Linked DNA regions of Homo sapiens: regions 1, 2 and 3 are each linked to region 4. The links are contacts of gene promoters, found by promoter capture Hi-C in human tissues and cell types (Jung and others, 2019). All regions are on one chromosome and are shown on one strand. Each heading gives the region's core, a stretch centred on a gene start or on the middle of the fragment in contact. The rest is flanking DNA. Distances are from core to core; before and after follow the strand shown. Region 1 has its middle 86 kb from the start of LRPPRC. Region 2 overlaps PPM1B (protein phosphatase, Mg2+/Mn2+ dependent 1B). Region 3 has its middle 65 kb from the start of LRPPRC. Region 4 holds the start of SIX3 (SIX homeobox 3).

Region 1 (2,700 bases), core at 12-2,511, 860 kb after region 4:
CTAGTGCCTGACATGTAGTATATGCTGGATAAATATTTTTTGGATAAATATTTTTTAGATAAATGAATAAGCAAACATTTAATAGAAGCTGTTAAAGGCCTTTCAATCTCACAGGTTTCTGACACTCTTACCCTTTGTACCAGAAATGCCCAAGGCCGCTGGGACAGCAGTGGGCCAAAAGTCTCAGGACTCACATTGCTGTCCTTGGCAAGGGGGCACATCAAACCCCACAGAAGACCGCTGGAAGTGACAGCTCAGTTGTGAACTAATCCAGACTGAAATATAAGCAGTGGGTCATTGTCTGCTCCCTGGAGACATTGGCTTCTTGTGGGAGAATTGCAAAGTGGGGCTGGCACAGATCATTGTGCAGTATTGGCGGGCTCCAGTGTGAGTGCAGTGTTGCCTAATAAACACTTCTAATTTCCCTTTTTTTTTTCTTTTTGAGATGGACTCTGGCTGTGTCACCCAGGCTGGAGTGTAGCGGCAGGATCTTGGCTCACTGCAATATCTACCTCCCGGGTTCAAGCAATTCTGCCTTAGCCTCCCGAGTAGCTGAGATTACAGGCGCCGGCCACCACGCCTGGCTAATTTTTGTATTTTTAGTAGAGACGGGGTTTCACCATGTTGTCCAGGCTGGTCTCAAACTTCTGACCTCAGGTAATCCACCCACTTCAGCCTCCCAAAGTGCTGGGATTACAGATGTGAGCCACTGCGCCCGGTCCACTTTTAATTTCCTTTTGATTCACTTTGATCACTAGTTCATTCTGTGACCTCCACTGATTATATTATGTGTTCAAAGACACAATACCCTTCATGTCCAACCTACTTTGTGACATTCTGTTTATTTCAGAACAGGGTTTACTCAAAATGCCCTGTGCCAGAGAGGCAGGAGTCACCTCTGCAGGTATCACATGTGGAATGAGAACAACCAGGAGAGTGTCTTTGAGGAGGCAGTATGATGTCTTGAGAAGAGCACTCGATTCGAGAATCTAGAAGGGTTTCAAGTCCTGATGTGCCAGCATTTGAGTATGGGAAGGTCAGCAGGCACCAGCAACCAAATTCCTTTAAAGTCTTACTGAGTAGCTTGGACTTTCTCCTGTGCCCTGGGGCATGACAGGGCCAAATCAGAGTTTGTGTTTTTTTTACTGAGACAGGGTCTCGCTCTGTTGCCTAGTCTGTAGTGCAGTGGCATGATCCCAGTGGCCTCAAACTCCTGGGCTCAAGCGATCCTCCCACCTCAGCCTCCCGGGTAGCTGGGATTACAGATATGTGCCACTATGCCTGGCTAATTTTTTTTATTTTTTGTAGAGACAGGGTTTCACCATGTTGCCTAGGCTGGTCTTGAACTCTTGTGTTGAAGCCATCTGCCTGCCTCGGCCTTCCAAAGTGCTAGGATAACAGGCGTGAGCCACCATGCCCACCAAATCAGAGTTTTTGAAAGATCTTTTTGGCAATAGTGTGGAGGGTTTATTGAAGGGGAAAAATTGGATTGGAAGTGACAAGATGAGTTAAGATATAGTCCAAGTGAAAGGTGATGGGGCATAGACCAGGACTGAAGCACTGGAGATGAGAAAGAGAATGAATAAAGACCTTTTAGAAGGAGAACTGGCCTGGGTATGGTGGCACATGCTTGTAATCCCAGTGCTTTAGGAGACAGAGGTGGGAGGATTGCTTGAGCACAGGAGGTCGATGCTGCAGTGAGCCATAACTGTGCCACTGCATTTCAGCCTGGGTGACAGAGTGAGAACCTGTTTCTGAAAAGAAAAAAAGCCAAGCGGGGTGGCGTGCACCTGTAATCCCAGCTACTTGGTAAGCTGAGGCAGGAGAATCGCTTGAACCACGGAGGTAGAGGTTGCAGTGAGCTGAGATGGCACCACTGCACTCCAGCTTGGGCGACAGAGCAAGACTCTTTTTCGGAAAAAAAAAAAAAAAAGGCAGCAGCGGCAGAACTGACAGAAAGGATTTAGAGATATGAGGAGAAGGGGAAAGAAAGGGAAAGTGAAAGTCAAATGCATCTAGGGTCCAGAGTGCATCACACAAACAGGAATAATGTTGTTTCACAAAAGCTTTGTACTCCTGCATAAATGTATGTATGTATGGGTTGGCAGGCATTATAAAATATATCTCTTGACCAGGCGCAGTGGCTCACACCTGTAATCCCAGCACTTTGGGAGGCTGAGGCGGGCGGATCACGAGGTCAGGAATTCAACACCAGCCTGGCCAATATGGTGAAACTCTGTCTGTACTAAAAATACGAAAATTAGCCGGGCATGGTGGTGCGTACTTGTAGTCCCAGCTACTCGGGAGGCTGAGGTAGAAGAATCGCTTGAACCCGGGAGGCAGAGGTTGCAGTGAGCCAAGATCGCACCACTGCACTCCAGTCTGGGCAACAGAGCAAGACTCTGTCTCAAAAAAAAAAAATAATAATAATAATAACTGCATTTCTTTCCAGGGTGATAAAAAAAAAATTATACAACATGGACTATATCAGTGTTTCCCAAACTTCAGTCATTTGCATAACTCATTCACAATTGTGACCGTATTCAAATAACACCTGCACCATTAATTGCTTAGTGTTGTGCTTTATTTTGTTGTTTGTTTGTTTGTTTGTTTGAGGCAGGGTATCGCTGTGTTGCTCAGGATGGAGTGTAGTGATGTGATCTGAACTCACTACAGCCTCGACCTCCTGGGCTCAAATGA
Region 2 (2,701 bases), core at 72-2,571, 770 kb after region 4:
AAAAAAAAAAAAATTCTGTATATGGTCATGTACATACACCTCTTAAAACAGTACTATATGCTATTTAGAAATACATACATGTAGGCCGGGCGCGGTGGCTCATGTCTGTAATCCCAGCACTTTGGGAGGCCGAGGCGGGCAGATCTTGAGGTCAGGAGTTCGAGACCAGCCTGGCCAACATGGTGAGACCCCTGTCTCTACTAAAAATACAAAAATTAGCTGAGCGTGGTGGCACGTGCCTGTAATCTCAGCTACTCACGAGGCTGAGACAGGAGAATTACTTAAAACCTGAAGGCGGAGGCTGCAGTGAGCCGAGATCATGCCACTACACTCCAGCCTGGGCAACAAGAGCAAAACTCCGTCTCAAAAAAAAAAAAAAAAAGGTTATTTCACTTTCACATTGCAATTCCAAACACTCCAGAACAGATGAATAGAAACAAACTCAATTTCCTTAAGTTTAGGACTAGCAACCACCAAAGACTTAATAAAATGTTAGATTATATAAACAAAACCAGTTACAAGAGATAATTTTTTTAAATTCAAGTAAGGTTGTTTTTGGTTATTTTTAAATCTAAGATAGATGGCCAAATGTTGAACAACTTAATGAATCTGGTCTGAATTACAGTACTAAATTTAATATATTCCAAAATTTCAAGTTCTCTTGCATATCAGCATTTTGATAAAGTAACAGAATTACAAAAATACATTAAAAATGAAACTAGGCCGGGCACGGTGGCTCATGCCTGTAATCCCAGCACTTTGGAAGGCTGAGGCGGGCAGATCACCTGAGGTCAGGAGTTTGAGACCAGCTTGGCCAACATGGTGAAACCCCGTCTCTACGAAAAATACAAAATTAGCTGGGCGTGGTGCCGCAGGCCTGTAATCCCAGCTACTTGGGAGGCTGAGGCAGGAGAATCGCTTGAACTGGGAGGTGGCGGCTGCAATGAGCCGAGATTGCACCACTGCACCCCAGCCAGTTGGTTGATTTGCTTTAAAATTAAAAAAATCAATCTTGATTCACTTTAGCAATGAAGATCAAATGAAACTGACTCATAAATGAAAGCACAAGACCACCAAGCATTAAAATAAGAACAAAAAGATGAAAGATCTTTTATGCTTAAGTTTGCAATGTTTGTATAAACTGAAGAAGAGGCCTCTTTACCAAACTGGTTCAGTAGGAAAGCAATAGAAAGAACAGAAAGCAAAAATTAAGCACCTGCTTCACACATCTAAGTGCAATACGCCCATCTCACATGCAGAAAAAACAAAGGCACGACGTTAAGTAATACAACAAAGCTATGGAAGGAGAAGCAGTGATAAATATATAGACCAAGTTGTGCACAATAAACCAAGAGACAAATTGGCTCCATTAGCCATCTTTGCTAAGAGCACAAAAGTAGCCATTACAAATCAGTACCAGGCACTATTGGTCAACCACTAATCCTTCAGCTATACTCACGTAAGAACAGAAAGCTTTTTAAACATAAATGACAACATATATTTTATAGGTATATCCCAATTATTTAAATCAGACTTAAAAAATCCTGTTCACCCTTCTCCTATTGTTCCACCTTTACTCCCATCCTCCTTTCCAGGAACTCATCTATCCAAGGATGTACAGTAAATGGAAACACCTGAAGGCCCCAAATTTCCCTCATGTCTGTCTAATGCAGGGATCTCTTTTTCTCTCTTTGGGTCATCTTTTAATCTTAAACCAGGCAGGGCATGGTGACTCACGCCTGTAATCCCAGCACTTGGGGAGGCCGAGGCAGGTGGATCATGAGGTCAGGAGTTCCAGACCAGCATGACCAACATAGTGAAACCCCATCTCTACTAAAAGTACAAAAATTAGCCAGGTGTGGTGGTGCATGCCTGTGATCCCAGCTACTCGGGAGACTGAGGCAGGAGAATTGTCTGAACCTGGGAGGCGGAGGTTGCAGTGAGCCGAGATCATACCACTGCACTCCAGCCTGGGTGACAGAGTGAGACTCCGTCTCAAAAAAAAAAAAAAAAAATCTCAAACCAATGTCTTTCTCTAAGGCACAACAATATTTCCTCTTTCCTCTTTTCAGTCTAGTTTTTATCCAATTACAGAAAACCTCTTCCTTTCCTTTTGTTAAAAATAGTAAAGCTCTAATCACAGCTTTTAAGTTTAGTGTACAAAACACACACACCCCAAATCTTCCACTCAAGTTTTTAAGCCAGCCACATAAGGAGTTCAGCTGTAATGTAAACTGTGAGTTGCTGGTTAACAGAATGCAAGATCGTCAACGACAAGGATTTGGGATTTTGTCTGTTTTGTTCAGATACTGGCATGAAATGGGGGCCTTTGCACACAGAAGGCACTCAGTGAACATAAGAATTGGCTGGAGGGTTACAGACTAAATACTATTAGACTGTTCTGAATTCTTTACTTCTCAGTGGGTTGGTAGCTCAGAGTAAATAAAAGCAGAAAGCCTCCCAAAGCTCAACAAAATCTCCTATATAATCTTAACATTTGGAGTGCTTTGAATTAATTATGTTCCCCCACCCCCACTTTTGTTTTTTTTGAGACGGAGTCTCACTTTTGCCCAGGCTGGAATGCAGTGGCGCGATTTCAGCTGGGTTGAACCTCCACCTCCTGGGTTCAAGCGATTCTCCTGTCTCAGCCTCCTGAGTAGCTAGGATTACAGGCACATGCCGCCACACCCAGCTAATTTTC
Region 3 (2,738 bases), core at 100-2,599, 880 kb after region 4:
CAGCTTCAGAGCTCCCCACGGGATCAATGGAGGCCTTTATTAACAGTGCCAGAGCTCAGTTTCTCTCTCTGCTTAGTCCTTACTCCCTTACAGTTATAGTTGCCAAGAGCAGCTCCCTGTAACCTCCCTAGGTTGCCACCTAAAGCCCTCATGTCTCCTCCAGGGAAGTGTCTGAAAATTCACTGAAAACCAACTGACTAAAGGTAGATTCATTGGAGAAAAGGCATAAAAACATTAACATGCATGGGAGGAAATTACAGACTGATCACCCAAAAAACAGTGCAGTCCAGAAGCTCCCCTTTTTTCATAAGGGAGGGGGGAGATGGGAATTGTAGACAATTCTTTGAAGGGGTAGTAAATCATTAGGGAGAACGAATGGCGTTGGGAGGCCACCAGTACAGAAACGTAAGGAACAGAGGTTGCTTCACAGGAACAAAGGTTGTCTTATTATGCAACTAAAGTTCCCCGCTGCGGGTAATCTCTTGGAGCTACCCGCATAACAGAGGAAAAGTCAGCCTCGGCATGGTGATGACTTGAGTCTCTTCTCTCATGGTTGATCATTCCTGGTTAGTTGATGAGATCCCCAGGGAGGGAGTCTTAAGACAATTGCATTTAAGCGTTCTTAGAAGTCAGATAAGCAAATTCCAGAGAGGGTCCCTTCTATTGCTTCTTCGGGAAAAAGGACCAGAGCGACAGGGAGGTTGGGGCAAAGAACAGAGAGAGACATTGGTTCTGGGACTTATTTCTGAAGTGAGGAGAGCCTCTGCCCGGCCGCCCCACCATCTGGCAAGTGAGAAGCGCCTCTGCCCAGTCGCCGCTCCGTCTGGGAAGAGAGGAGCGCCTCGCCCGGCCGCCACACCGTCTGGGAAGTGGCCCCTCTGCCCAGAGGCCACCCTGCCTGGGAAGTGAGGAGCACCTCTGCCCGGCTGCTGTGCAACCCTCCAAGTGTGAAGTGGCTGCCGTGTGTGTGATCTTTCTGCCCTCCCCAAGTTTTCATTTTTGACATTAAAGTTTACTTTTAAATTTTTTTTAAAAAAAAGAAGAAAAAGGGAGCCAGAATGGGGACTTTTCGGAGCAGCGCAGAGCAACGGGGAGGAAGACGCAGGATTGGTTACCTGTGTTTTCCTTTTTTGCATGACAGCCCTCACTGACACAGCCAGACCTGAGGCAACCCTTTCAACCCACCTAGGGAAAAGAACATGTTTCTGCCTTCAAATGTACTTGTTATAAACTTTGCCCCAGGAGGCAAAATGAAATTATAGCCAAGCCTACACATCAGTGAGCTGTATTGTGATAGAAAACATCAAACAACTCTTTTGTACTTTGGATTTTGATTCACAGTAAAACTTTCCACTAGAAATCAATATTGACTTCTCATCACCTGCAGGTCAATATACCTTAATGAACCTTGGTGTCACCTCCCCTTTCTCTACTCTTTTTACTCCTAGAGACTTAGAGAGCTCAGAAGACAGGAAGATGTGGGAAAGTTTGGAACTTCCTAAAGACTTGATGAATGGCTTTGATCAAAGTGCTGATAGTGATAAGGATGATGAAGTCCAGGCTGAGGTGGTCTCAGATGGAGATGAAGAACTTCTTGGGAACTGGAGTAAAGGTGACTCTTGCTATGCAATGAGACTGCTGGAATTTTGCCTCTGCCCTAGAGATCTTTGGAACTTTGAACTTGAGAGAGATGTTTTAGGGTATCTGGTAGAAGAAATTCCTAAGCGGCAAAGTACTCAAGAGGAGGCAGAGCATAAAAGTTTGGAAAATTTGCAGCCTGCTGATGCAATAGAAACAAAAACCCCATTTTCTGGGGAGAAATTCAAGCCAGCTGCAGAAATTTGCATAAGTAACGAGGTGCCAAATGTTAATCACCAAGACAATGGGGAAAATGTCTCCAGGGCCTGTTAGAGACCTTCACAGCAGCCTCTCCCATCTCTGGCCCAGAGACCTAGGAGGAAGGAAATGGTTTCTTAGGTCAGGCCCAGGGACCCCCTGCTGTGTGTTAGCCTAGGGACTTGGTGCCCTGCATCTCAGCCACTCCAGCTGTGCCTAAAAGGGGCCAAGGTACAGCTCAGGCCATGGCTTCAGAGAGTGGAAGCCTCAAGCCTTAGCAACTTCCATGTGGTGTTGAGTCTGTTGGTGCACAGAAGTCAAGAACTGAGGTTTGGGAACCTTTGCCTAGATTTCAGAGGATGTATGAAAATGCCTGGATGTCCAGGCAGAAGTTTGCTGCAGGGGCAGAACCCTCATGGAGAACCTCTGCTAGGGCAGTGAGGAAGGGAAATGTAGAGTTGGAGTCCCCACACAAAGTCCCCACTGGGGCACTGCCTAATGGAGCTGTGAGAAAAGGTCCACCATCCTCCAGACCCCAGAATGGTAGATCTACCAACAGCTTGCACCATGCGCCTGGAAGAGCTGCAGACACTCAACACCAGCCTGTGAAAGCAGCCAGGAGCGGGGATGTAACCTGCAAAGCCACAGGGGTGGAACTGCCCAAGGCTGTGGGAGCCCACCTGTTGCATCAGCACGGCCTGGATGTGAGACATGGAGTCAAAGGAGATTATTTTGCACCTTTAAGGTTTAATGCCTGCCCTATGGATTTTGGACTTTCATGGGGCCAGTATCCCCTTTGTTTTGGCCAATTTCTCCCATTTGGAGTGGGTGTGTTTATCCAATGCCTGGACCCCCATTGTATCTAGGAAGTAACTAATTTGATTTTGATTTTACAGGCTCAT
Region 4 (2,700 bases), core at 133-2,632:
CAGCCAGCCCGGCCCCCTCTTCCGCGCGTCCCGGACAAGCGGAAACTTTCTCCGACTGGCCAGGAGTCACGGCTTCCCTGGCTCTCAGCGGCCGCTCCGCTAGCCCCATCTCAACCCCTCTCCCCTTCCCAGGCCTCTGAGGCTGTAGCCAGGCCGCGGGCCCCGCCACTAACCTGTTCTTGGCCGCCGCGGCGCGGTCGCGCTGCCGCCGGTTCTTAAACCAGTTGCCTACTTGTGTGGGAGTGAGGCCGGTGGCCTGCGCCAGTTCGCGTTTCTTGCTGGGGTTGGGGTAGGGGTCCTGTAGGTACCACTCCCGCAACAGGCTCCGAGTCCGCTCCTTGAAGCAATGCGTCTTCTGCTCGCCGTCCCAGATGGTGCGTGGCAGCGGGAACTTCTTGCGCACGCGGTACTTGTCCACCGGGCCGAGTGGGCGGCCGCGCAGCTTCTCGGCCTCCTGGTAGTGCGCCTCGAGCCACATGGCCTGCAGCTTGCCGTGAGACTCCTTGGTGAACTTGTGGTTCTCAAGGATGTGGTAGAGGTCGCGGAAGTTGCCCGTGTGGAAGGCGACCACGGCGCGCGCGCGCAGGATCGACTCGTGTTTGTTGATGGCCTCGCACGCCCCGGGGGCCACGGGCAGCGACCAGAGGAAGCGGCCCAGCCGCTCGATGTCGCCCGTCTCCTCCAGCGTCTCACAGACGCTGGCCACCTGCTCCGGCGAGAAGTTGAGGGTGGGCAGCTGGAACATGGACAACTCTTCCGGGGGGGCCCTGGAGCCGCCGCCGCCGCCGCCGCCTGCTCCGCCAGCACCGCCGCCTCCCGCACCGTTCCCGCCGCCGCTGCCGCCTCCCGCGCCGCCGCCGCCTCCCGCACCGTTCCCGCCGCCGCTACTCGCCAGAAGTATGGAGCGGTGGTGAGAATCGGCGAAGTTTGGCAACAAGAAGTGGGAGGAATAGAGGTCTAGGGGGGAGCGGAATACCATGGACTGACCTGAGAGGAGAGGAGAAAATTCAGGGAGAGGAAGAGAGAGGGGAGGAAGAGGAGGAGAGGGGCGATGAGGACCAGGAGGAGGGAGAGGAGAGGGGGGAGGAGGAGAAGGAAAGGAGGGGGGAGCAGGAGGAGGAGGGAGAGGAGGAAGGGCGTAAGGGACACCCACACCCCACACACATCCACACACACACACACCCGCGCAGCCACATAGAGAGGGAGGTAGGAGAGCGGCCCGGTGCGCGCGCGCAGAGAGAGAACCCGAGACAGAGAGGGAGAGGGAGAGGGAGAGAGGAGAGGGAGAGCCAACCACCGCCGAGTCAAGATTCAGCGATTCCACCGCAATCGCCCTAATGACAACAGCCTCATAATATCTCCCCTAAATCCACAGTGAGTGCAGCATTGAAACATTTTGTTTCGCTTTTCTATTGGTCTGTGGCGTGTCGTTGTGGCGTTGCCACGGCAACCACTGCCAATCACTGTCAGCCCTGCCAATCAATACCGAGAACGTAAGGACGGTTTTACCACTTAGCCAGAGGGCGGGGGGAGGGGGAGAGCAGGGAAGGAGGGAGAAGTGGGGGGATAAAGAGAATTTTTTTTATCTTTGCAACTCTTAATCTCGCTACCTCCCCCTCCTCTCTTCTCTCTTCTCCCTCTCTCTCCTCTTTTCTCTACCGCTGTCTCTGAGACTTCTTCTTCCCTTTTTCCTAAAGAAGTTGATCCAGAAATTCGAAAAGCCCTGGGCAGAGTTGTTGAATGGGATGTGCAATTAGAGAGGGGATTTTGTTGGGAGGCAAGAGGGTCCCCCAGGCTCCACATAGTCCAGGTCGGCAGGCAAGGAAAGACGGCTGACCAGCCCAGCGGGCGCGGTTTGCACATGGTTTGCACGTCGGGCCGCCTCTTTCTGCCTATGTGAGCACTAATAGTGGCAAGGAAGAAAGGAGAGATGAGATCATGGGGCCCACCAAGCACCGACCTTGGCCCAGCGGGCCGTGGCGCCAGCCGGGGATCCCGGATTCCGAGGGTATCTGGCGCCAGGGAGCCTGAGCCCAATTCCCAGGGTGCTGGAGGCCGCTCTTGCCTCCCCCATCGGTGCCCATGGACCGCATTCACCTCAACTCCCTCTTCATCAATTAGGCTTCTCTTTACTCCCTCCCCGGCCAAGGAGCCTCGATTTCCCCCACCACCCTGTATTTTAAAATAACAGTCCAAACAGTACACTTCTTTCCATCTTAAGAAGCAACTCAACTCTTTGTTTCTTCCCAGAATTCAGCTGCCTCTCTGAGGAGTGGTGGAGGAGCTGCGGGAGCCGAGAAGCCCAAGAGCCCTCTGGACCCAGAAAAGTCCTACAGATGCCCACTCCTCACCACACAACAGAAGGAGCTCTGGTCCTGCCTGCCAGCCCCAGAGGGCACTCAAACTTTGGAGGCCAGCCACCCGGATGAAGTGAATAAGGCCTGAAAATTGCTTGTTTGCTCGTATTGTAAAATAATAATAATTACCATTATTATTTTTAAACTGTCTAATTTCTCTAGGGAAAGTAACATCGAAAGCCTAAAACAGACGCCAAAAGGCCCATAGAACACAGAGGGCCCTCTCTGCCTCTGGCCACCACAGCCCCTAGGCCAGGCATGGGTATTTATTCTTAGGTATGTTGCTTTTAAGAAGCTGTAATCAGCATCTTGAGCCGGGCCTCCCTTTGTGAGGCTTCTGTAA

Evidence for each region. The method cuts DNA at HindIII sites, captures the fragments that hold promoters and counts their contacts. A contact is called where the count stands out against the background at its distance.
Region 1: a fragment that was not itself captured here is called in contact with the fragment with the promoter of SIX3 in region 4 in 1 of the 25 tissues and cell types used here (H1 embryonic stem cells).
Region 2: a fragment that was not itself captured here is called in contact with the fragment with the promoter of SIX3 in region 4 in 1 of the 25 tissues and cell types used here (H1 embryonic stem cells).
Region 3: a fragment that was not itself captured here is called in contact with the fragment with the promoter of SIX3 in region 4 in 2 of the 25 tissues and cell types used here (H1 embryonic stem cells and lymphoblastoid cells).

Annotation. Positions count from the first base shown.
Region 1 is chr2:44,080,848-44,083,547 of GRCh38, reverse strand. No RefSeq gene overlaps it. Among named protein-coding and RNA genes, the nearest start is that of LRPPRC, 86 kb to the right of the region's middle. The HindIII fragment of the contact is 8,452 bases long and covers 1-2,700 here.
Region 2 is chr2:44,175,100-44,177,800 of GRCh38, reverse strand. The region is part of intron 1 of PPM1B (protein phosphatase, Mg2+/Mn2+ dependent 1B); the gene reads right to left. Among named protein-coding and RNA genes, the nearest start is that of PPM1B, 7.6 kb to the right of the region's middle. The HindIII fragment of the contact is 5,147 bases long and covers 1-2,701 here.
Region 3 is chr2:44,059,750-44,062,487 of GRCh38, reverse strand. No RefSeq gene overlaps it. Among named protein-coding and RNA genes, the nearest start is that of LRPPRC, 65 kb to the right of the region's middle. RefSeq lists enhancers at 225-798, 1,634-2,169. The HindIII fragment of the contact is 6,972 bases long and covers 1-2,738 here.
Region 4 is chr2:44,940,384-44,943,083 of GRCh38, reverse strand. SIX3 (SIX homeobox 3) reads right to left here and starts at 1,382. Exons shown (of 2, transcript NM_005413.4): 1 at 174-1,382. The coding sequence starts at 979. SIX3-AS1 (SIX3 antisense RNA 1) reads left to right here and starts at 1,206. Exons shown (of 2, transcript NR_103786.1): 1 at 1,206-1,374; 2 at 2,251-2,700. RefSeq lists enhancers at 1-339, 1,422-1,948. The HindIII fragment of the contact is 28,963 bases long and covers 1-2,700 here.